Linked DNA regions of Homo sapiens: all the other regions are linked to region 3. The links are contacts of gene promoters, found by promoter capture Hi-C in blood cells and fetal thymus (Javierre and others, 2016). All regions are on one chromosome and are shown on one strand. Each heading gives the region's core, a stretch centred on a gene start or on the middle of the fragment in contact. The rest is flanking DNA. Distances are from core to core; before and after follow the strand shown. Region 1 overlaps BPIFB3 (BPI fold containing family B member 3). Region 2 overlaps EFCAB8 (EF-hand calcium binding domain 8). Region 3 holds the start of SUN5 (Sad1 and UNC84 domain containing 5).

What was found. Contacts are between HindIII fragments. The CHiCAGO score rates a contact against its expected background, and 5 or more counts as called.
Region 1: a contact is called between a fragment that was not itself captured here and the fragment with the promoter of SUN5 in region 3, in 1 of 17 cell types (megakaryocytes). The highest score is 5.5, in megakaryocytes.
Region 2: a fragment that was not itself captured here is called in contact with the fragment with the promoter of SUN5 in region 3 in 4 of 17 cell types (activated CD4 T cells, non-activated CD4 T cells, total CD8 T cells and 1 more); the score reaches 6.4 in activated CD4 T cells.

Annotation. Positions count from the first base shown.
Region 1 is chr20:33,066,761-33,069,460 of GRCh38, reverse strand. It overlaps BPIFB3 (BPI fold containing family B member 3), which reads right to left. Exons shown (of 16, transcript NM_001376932.3): 10 at 2,584-2,637; 11 at 488-658. Among named protein-coding and RNA genes, the nearest start is that of BPIFB4, 12 kb to the left of the region's middle. The HindIII fragment of the contact is 194 bases long and covers 1,302-1,495 here.
Region 2 is chr20:32,944,852-32,947,705 of GRCh38, reverse strand. The region is part of intron 23 of EFCAB8 (EF-hand calcium binding domain 8); the gene reads right to left. Among named protein-coding and RNA genes, the nearest start is that of SUN5, 58 kb to the left of the region's middle. The HindIII fragment of the contact is 687 bases long and covers 1,083-1,769 here.
Region 3 is chr20:33,003,142-33,005,841 of GRCh38, reverse strand. It overlaps SUN5 (Sad1 and UNC84 domain containing 5), which reads left to right and starts at 1,409. Exons shown (of 13, transcript NM_080675.4): 1 at 1,409-1,578. The coding sequence starts at 1,502. The HindIII fragment of the contact is 1,549 bases long and covers 1,130-2,678 here.

The sequences.
Region 1 (2,700 bases), core at 149-2,648, 64 kb before region 3:
GGGACAAGGACGGGCAAGGCAAGGATGGGGCAGAAGGACAATGAATGTCAGGCTCAGGTGTTTGGCCATGGGGAGCCAAGGTGGAGGATAGGGGGAGGGGCCTGCCTCGGTCCAGATGTGTGCAGAGGTGCGATGGAGGAAGCTGACTGGAGCGGGAGGGTCAGAGGAAGCTGGAGGGTCGTCAGGGAGATAGCTGGGCAGAGAGGCTGGGGAGATGGGGAGCAACGTCTGAGATCCCCAAGAAGCAGTGTGGGCAGCCCAAACAGGCCCAGGCAGACATGACAGGAGGGAGCAGGCAGGAACTGAAGCAGGGGCTTGGGTCTCAGCCCAGATGATGACAGTGGTTGTGGGGCGGGGGGCTTCCTGTGCTGGACTATGTGGGGCTCCCACCCTGAAATCAGGGGGACGGTACCTCCACAGTCCTGGAGACAGTCACCCCCATTTGGAACCCCAATGCCGGGCCCCCAGCCACCCCTTGACCACTCACGGAGTTCAGCTCAAAGAGGGATTCAGGGGTCCCCTTAGGGACATAGAACAGCACATGGATGTTGGCTGGGAGGGAGACCAAGGCCTTCTTGTTGTGGAGTGTGACCGTGGGAGCTTCCCTCACCCGCAGGAACAGTAGGAGTTGCTGGTGCAGGGGCAGCTTCCCCAGGGCCTGGAGAAATGCAGGGGCATAACTTAGATGCCCCAGGACTACAATCAGTCAGTCAGTCAGCAAACACTCACTAAGCACCTACCAGGCACTGGGCAACGTGCTGGGCAACGAGGTTACAGCCTGAAAGACACAGGCCTGGGCTCAGCCCCCATGAGGCTGACACTCAGGTGTGGAGACACCGACCTGCAGGACTGCCAAATCAGACTTCCTGTCTCAAGCAGAGTCAGAATCCTCCCCGAGGCCATAGGCTCTGTGTCCTCCATCCCCTGCCCGCCTCTCCACTTCACCTGCTCTCCTCCCGCTGCTGCCCTGCGTTCTCCCTCCAGACTCACTGGCCACGTGGCTGCTCCTCCAGCTGCCAGGGATGCTCCCAGCAGGCGCCAGGGCCTTTGCACTTGCTGCTCCCTCTGCCTGGAAATATCTTCCCAGAGAACTGCAAAGTTCCCTCACTCACCTCCTTCACTCAAATGTTACCTCCTCACTGAGGCCTTGCAAAGCACCATGTCTAAAAGCACCAGCCAGCACTCCTAAGCCAGCTTCGCCACTCCATGCTCTTCCACCTTCTGACACTGTCTCTGTTTCTGTTTATTTGTGCAATGTCTGTCACCTCCAGCAGAATGGCAACCCCTTGAGTGCAGAAGCTTTTCTCTCCTTTCACCTTTTGCCCTTTGTGCAGCCCCAGCTGCAGGTATGCCCTTGTTCCATTGCAGGGCCTGTTACACAGTAGGTGCTCAGTGGATATACGCTGACTGCCTAAATGAGGCACACAATCAGGAAATTCTGAGTCTCATAATTGCAACGTCATGAGACTAAGGAAATTACAGAACCACAGAAGCTTGGAACACATAAGTATGTCCCTTGCCTGCTGGAATTTGAGTCTAGGTTTCCTCAAGCCCAGAATCCCTAAGGGGCAGGATCATCAGGACCAGGAATCACCTGATTCCACCCTCACATGCCACAGAATCTGAAGCCACATGGGGCTCTAAAGCTGCGAGGCCAGCAAATGGAGACCAAAGGATTCAGCCTCCAGAGACAAGCCCAGCTTCCCCATGCTGGAGGGGCAGGCCCAGCTTGCTGCTTCTGGATACCCCTGCCCCAGCCAACTCCACTTGCCCCATGTCCCTCTCCACTCCTACTCTCTGGAGGTTCTTCTGAATGTCTGACTCCAATCGCATCCCTTCCATGAGGCTCCTATGCCCTTTAGCCAAGGGACTCTGGAAAGCTGAGGCCCCGACCTCATTCATCCAGACTGCTTTGAATCACCAACTTCAAGAACTCACAGAGTTTGTCCTCTGTGCCCCCAAACCCAGCTTTCATTTCCATCCTCTCTGGTGAGAGCCCAGGCCCCTAGGCCTCTTTCCAACCTCTTTCAGAACCTGCTGTTACATAAGGACCTTGTAGTAGACATTTTAACTTCAGTACGAATTCCAGTTCTCACAGCTGGAAAGCAGCTGGTCCAGCCCCAGTTGAAGGATGGGAAAGCTGAGGCCTGGCCTGGAAGTCATGTACTTATGTCCACTAGTGAGACCTACCTGACACTCTCCCTTTTCTTTCCTCTCCAAGACAAGTGCCCTAGTCTTTTCTCTGGGGACATTGAAGACTAAGGTCAGGATGAAGTAAGCCAGTTGGTAGAAGGGAGCTCAGTAACCTGAAAAGACTTTTGTCCTTGTGTGCTACAGAAACAATTTCCATAGGATAAATGCCCAGTTGATTTCTGGGGCAGTCAAGCCCTAATCCTTTACTCTCTAAGCAAAATCTGCTATCAGGAAAGGATGTCGTGTTAGTCATTCACACTTTAGTGTGAATTTGGACTCAACTGTTCAATTGCAGTTGCCTGGAGAGCTGTATTGAGAAAGATTCTGGACTCCATTCATGGTCATCAGGAAAGAGCTACAATGATCAAAACCCATGAGAGCGTCACTCACCTCAGGGAGCAAAGCTGCCAGGTCTGTAGTTGTCAGTGGGACATCGCTGGGAACCTGGACCCCCAATGGGAGAGAGGGTTGGTGAGCACAGAGACAGAACAGGAATCCCTCAGCACA
Region 2 (2,854 bases), core at 177-2,676, 58 kb after region 3:
ACTGTTTTTTGTGGCATCTCATAAATTTTGAAATGTTACATTTTCATTTTCATTCAGTTCAAAATATTTTCTAATTTCCCTCTGGATTTCTTTTTTTGGCCCATGGGTTATTTAGAAATGTGTCATTTAGCTTCCAAATATTTAGGGATATTTCAAAGATATTTCTGTTTTTGATTTATAATTCAGTTTCATTGGGATCAGAGAACATACTTTGTATGGCATAAATCCTTTTGAGATTAGTGAGATGTGTTTTGTTACCAGAATATGGTCGGTTTAATTAATGTTCTGTGTGCACTTAAAAATAATGTTTGTTTATGAATGATCTATAAATGTTAATTAAGTAAAATTGTTTGATAGTGTTATTCAAGTATTCTATATCATTAATGATTTTCTGTATAGTTGTTTTATAAATTGAGAGAATATTGAAATCTCATGCTACAATCATAGATTATTAAAATTTAAAATAATAACAGATCAAACACCAAATGTTGATGAAGACACAAAGGTAGAAATGCAAAACAGTTTGGTCATTTTTCATAAAGTTTCAATACACTTACCATACAACCCAGCCATTCTGCTTCTAAATACTTACCCAACAGAAATGAAAACAATGTTTAAAGCGGCTTCATTCATAATCATCCAAAACTGACAATGACTCAAATGTCCTATAATTGGTGAATGGATTAACAAACTATGACAGAGCCATACAGTGGAATAATACTCAGCAATAAAAAGAACAAACTACTGATACGTTCAACAACAAAGATGAATCTCAAATTGATTATGCTAAGTGAAAGTTAGACTTTCACTCAGCTACATGTGTATGTTTCCATTTATGATAATCTGGAAAAGGCAAAACTATAGAGACAAACAGATCAATGGCTGCCAGGGGTTAGGAGAAGGAAATAGAGTTTACTATGAGGAGACATGAGGTCACTTTTTGGGGTAATGTCTATGTCTTGATTGTGATACCAATTACACAATTGTATGCATTCATGAAACCTCACAGAACTATATACTTTTAAAAGGTGCTTTTATTGGATGTAAATTATACTTCAGAAATCTGATTTTTAAAACAAGCTTCTAAAAGATAACACTAGATATTATATTTAGGGGATAGTCAAAGACGTCTTTGAAAGATACAAAAAAATGGGTGACATCAGCAAGATGGTAGAATAGGAAGATCCAGAACTTCCTTCTCCCTATGGAGACACTGACTGAACAACAGTACATGGACCAGAAACCAGGACCATTCATCCCAGATGAATGAAAAAACAAACAAACAAAAACCAAAAAAACAAAAAACAAAAAACCAGCTGCACTGAAGCCAGTAGGAAAATTCATAGTGCTCACTTGTAATCCCTCCTCCTGGCTCAGTGAAGCAGATTGGGAAGGAACCACCAGCTTCCAGCTTCTCCCTGGGAGGGAAAGACTGAGATGTACATCCAACATGCAGACTTTTCAGAGGGCTGCATGATTAACCAGTTTCTGTCTTGCCTGAATCTAAGCACTGACAGGAAGAGGCACCAGACTGGGCTACTAAGAACAAAGGTGACAATTTAGACTAGCACACACTATCAGAGTCCCTCCTGCCGCTCTGTGGAATGAGTAGAGAAAACAACCCAACTTCCAGCTTCTCCTTGAGGAGGCAGATTTGGAGCATACATATCCAATGTTAGCCTTTGAGGGGTACCCAAGAAACTGGTTTCTGTCTTGCCTCTCTCAGACTATTGAAGGACCCAGCATATTCTAGAGGCCTGGGGGAAGCTTGTAGCCGCTCTAGAGAACTTGCAGTACTGCAAATAGACACCAGAGAGAGCAAGAGATAATGGACTCCTGAAAAAAATAAACCTGTAGATTCCTGTAATTGCGAATTTACATGCGTAAGTCTGGTGAAAGTATCCACAAAAAAGATTGGGGAGGCACCCAGAATCTTTAGCCAAGCTGATTGGTGCAGAATTTTCCCTGAATGAAGCCAGTATATAAAGACTGGGAGAGGTGGCTGATTTTACAAATGCATGGATCCCAATATAAAGTTATAAGGCACACAAAAAAAATAGGAAAGCATGGCCCAAAGGAACAAAATAAATCTCCAGAAACTGCCGCTAAAGAAATTGAGGTATATTAATTATTTGACAAAGAATTCTAAGTAACCGTAATAAAAATGCTCAACAAGCTCAGGGAAACAATACATGAACAAACTGAGAATATTAGTGAAGACACAGAAAATATAGAAAAGAACCAAACAGAGGCCAGCCATGGTGGCCCACACCTATAATCCCAACACTTTGGGAAGCTTAGGTGGGCGATCACTTGAGCTCAAGAATTCAAGGCCAGCCTGGGCAACATGGTGAAACTCTGTCTCTACAAAAAATACAAAAAATTAGCCAGGCATGATGGCATGCACCTGTAGTCCCAGCTACTCAGGAGGCTGTGGGAAGATCACTTGAGGCTGGGAGGTCAAGGCTTCAGTGAGCTGAATTCGTGCCACTGCACTCAACCCTGGGTGGCAGAGCAAGACCCTGTCTCAAAAAATAATAATAATAATAATAAAAATAACAGAAATTCTAGAGCTGAAGATGAAGAGTAAAATAATTGAATTCAAAAGTCATCTACAGCAGGCTTGATCAAGCAGAAGGAAAAATCAGCAGACTTGAAGATATCCAGTCAGAGAAGCAAAAAAGAAAAAAGAATTTTAAAGAGTAAAGAAAACTTAAGGGATTTATGAGACATCGTCAAATGGACAATATATGCATTATGGTAGTACTAGAAGGAGGAGAGAGAGACAGAGAGAGAGAAAGGGACAAAAAGCTTATCTGAATAAATAATGGCTGAAAATGTTTCAAATCTTAAA
Region 3 (2,700 bases), core at 160-2,659:
GAGTTTCCCCTTCACTGAATATTCTCAGGGGTTTTGCATTGGTGTCCTGTTGCTGCAATAATGTATTATCACAAACTTAGTGACTTAAGACACAATTTATCATGTTACCATTCTGGAGGTCTGAAGTCCCAGATGGGTCTCCCTGGGCTAAAATCAAGGAAGTATTGGCAGGGCTGTGTTCCTTGCTGGAGGCTGTAGGAGAGGAATTGTCCACCTGCCTTTTCCAGCTTCTAGAAGCTGCCCTTATTCCTTGGCTCCTGGTCCCTTCCTCCATCTTCAAAGCCAGCATGTTGGGCTGAGTGCTTCTTGTGCTGCCATCTCCCTGCCTCCCTCTTCCATTTTTAAGGACCCTTGTCATTACATTGCACCCACATGGGTAATCTAGGGTATTCTTCCCATCTCAAGATCGACTGATTAGCAACTTAAATTGCTCTTCTAGTTTTAACTCCCTTTTGCCTTGTGACTTAACATATTTACATGTTCAGGTTTTAGTGTGTGGGCCTCTTTGAGGGACCATCGTACCACTTCCCATTGGTAATTAGCCTGCAATTTTAAGCAACTGCCACCAGGGGGCAAAAGTGAATTCATTTTAGCTTTGCTATCCAAATAGTCAAGCTCCCTACAGGCAGGGTGAACAGAAAAAACTTAGCCCGACATTTCCACTCGGTTATGCTTTTATTTTCCCCAGTAAAAAAGTAGAACTTTATTTTTGGACATAGAGTCTCACTCTGTTGCCCAGGCTGGGTGCAATGGCGCGATTTCTGCTCACGGCAACCTCTGCCGCCTCCCGAGTCAAGCAATTCTCAAGCCTCGGCCTCCCGAGTAGCTGGGATTACAGGCACACACCACCACACCCAGCCAATTTTTTGTATTTTTAGTAGAGAAGGGGTTTTGCCATGTTGCCCAGACAGGTCTCAAACTCCTGAGCTCAGGCAATCCACCCGCTTCTGCCTCTCAAAGTACTAGGATTACAGGCATCAACCACCGGGCCCAACAAAAAGTAGAACTTTATTAAAGCAACAACACATGCAATGTTATTTTGTGTTATGCACAATGTCCACCAGTGAGAAGCTCAGCATTACAAAATGCATTCAGGTGCAACCTAAGAAGGTGAAAAGCCTGGGAAGCTTGGGGCAGGAAGGGATCTAGGAAACAAGGAAAAGCATGGTTGGGTTACTGGAGCTTCAGCTCTCGCCCCTGTCCAGCTTCTGAGACCCCAGCATGGCCCTTCCTGTCTTGATGCCTCAATTTCCCCATCTTAAGAAAGGAAAGTGGGTCACAATGGCTTCCTCTGGGGGAGGTTCTAGGGCCAAGCTGGAGACTAGCCCCATCCCCTGCCCCTCCACCCACCTGCTCTGTGAGGTCACAATGCCAACTGCTCCACTGATCCTGGCAGATTCCACTTGGCACTTTTCAGGGGACATTCAGAGGCATCAGCCCCTTCCTCCTCACCAGCTCCCAGAGTTCCCATCTCCATCCCCAATCCTAAAGAAGGAAATCGATGCCACGGTCCTCAAGGAGCCCTGGGGACCCAGGCGCCCTACTCGAAGATGTGGCCCACAATCCCAGACCCCGGAGGTGAGGATGGCAGCCCCTCCCTTTGCCCAGCCCTTTACAGTTTACAAAATGCTGCCCCTCCACCCTGTCCTTGGAGATGAGTGGCATTGTCAACTGTACTGTACAGAGACAGCCACCAAGACCAGAGAGGTTTGGCAGTGGTATTCCCAAAGTCTCCCAGCCAGGAAGTGGTGAAGCAGCCATCCTTCCAGCACGCATTTATTGAGCATCTACTGTGTGCCGGGAAATGCACAGAGGACGGGGAACACGGTGTGGCACCAGTCTGATGTGCTCCGTTCCCTCATGGAGCTCACGGTCTAGTGCAGGAGACTGGTATGAAAGAAGGAAACAAGTATTTCGCCATCTTTATCTGTCAGAAAGCCTCTGAATGCAGGTGACAGAAATTCCAACTTAAAATGATGCCTATCTCTGGGCACCCAAATCTGGGTGTATATCCCAAGAGAGTATACCAAACAATCCCCAAGGGTGAGAAAAGAAATAACCAGGCTAGAATGTATGTCTTTCATCCTCTTTTAATTTATATTATTCAGGAATGTTACCATAAATCTGTACATTTGGGAAGGGTAAACAATGTATTAGTACAATTGGGTGTATATATAATTTATTAATAAACCAATATAAATACTCTGAGGTGGTATAAACAAAAATGTTTAAAGACCTTTGACTTAAGAAATAAGGGAAAATTTTAAATCTCACATATCAAGAGGTCCCAAGGTGCAGGGGGCTCCGGAGTGTGTTAATTCCTCAGTTCTGCCACCCAAGACCCAGGTTCCTGTCATCATTCTGCTCTTTTAGCCCCCTCTCATGGTCACAAGATGGCCACCACAGTTTCAGGTGTCACGCAGAAATGTGGCGTCTAGGGGAAGGAGAATAAGCATCGTTTTCTGTGGGTCTCATTTAGCTAATCCTAAACCTAACTTTTCCCCCAAGTCCCTTACCTCGTAACCACCCCCCTACCTCACCCTACCTCACCCCTGCAGACTTCCTCACCCTTGAACCAATCACAGCACAGGGAATGGGAGCACGACAGCAGGCTTCGACCAATCAAAATGGCCTAAAATCACATTGGGTAGGAGCAGACAAAGGAACAAAACCAAGCTTCTGCCAACCTCGGGGACATGG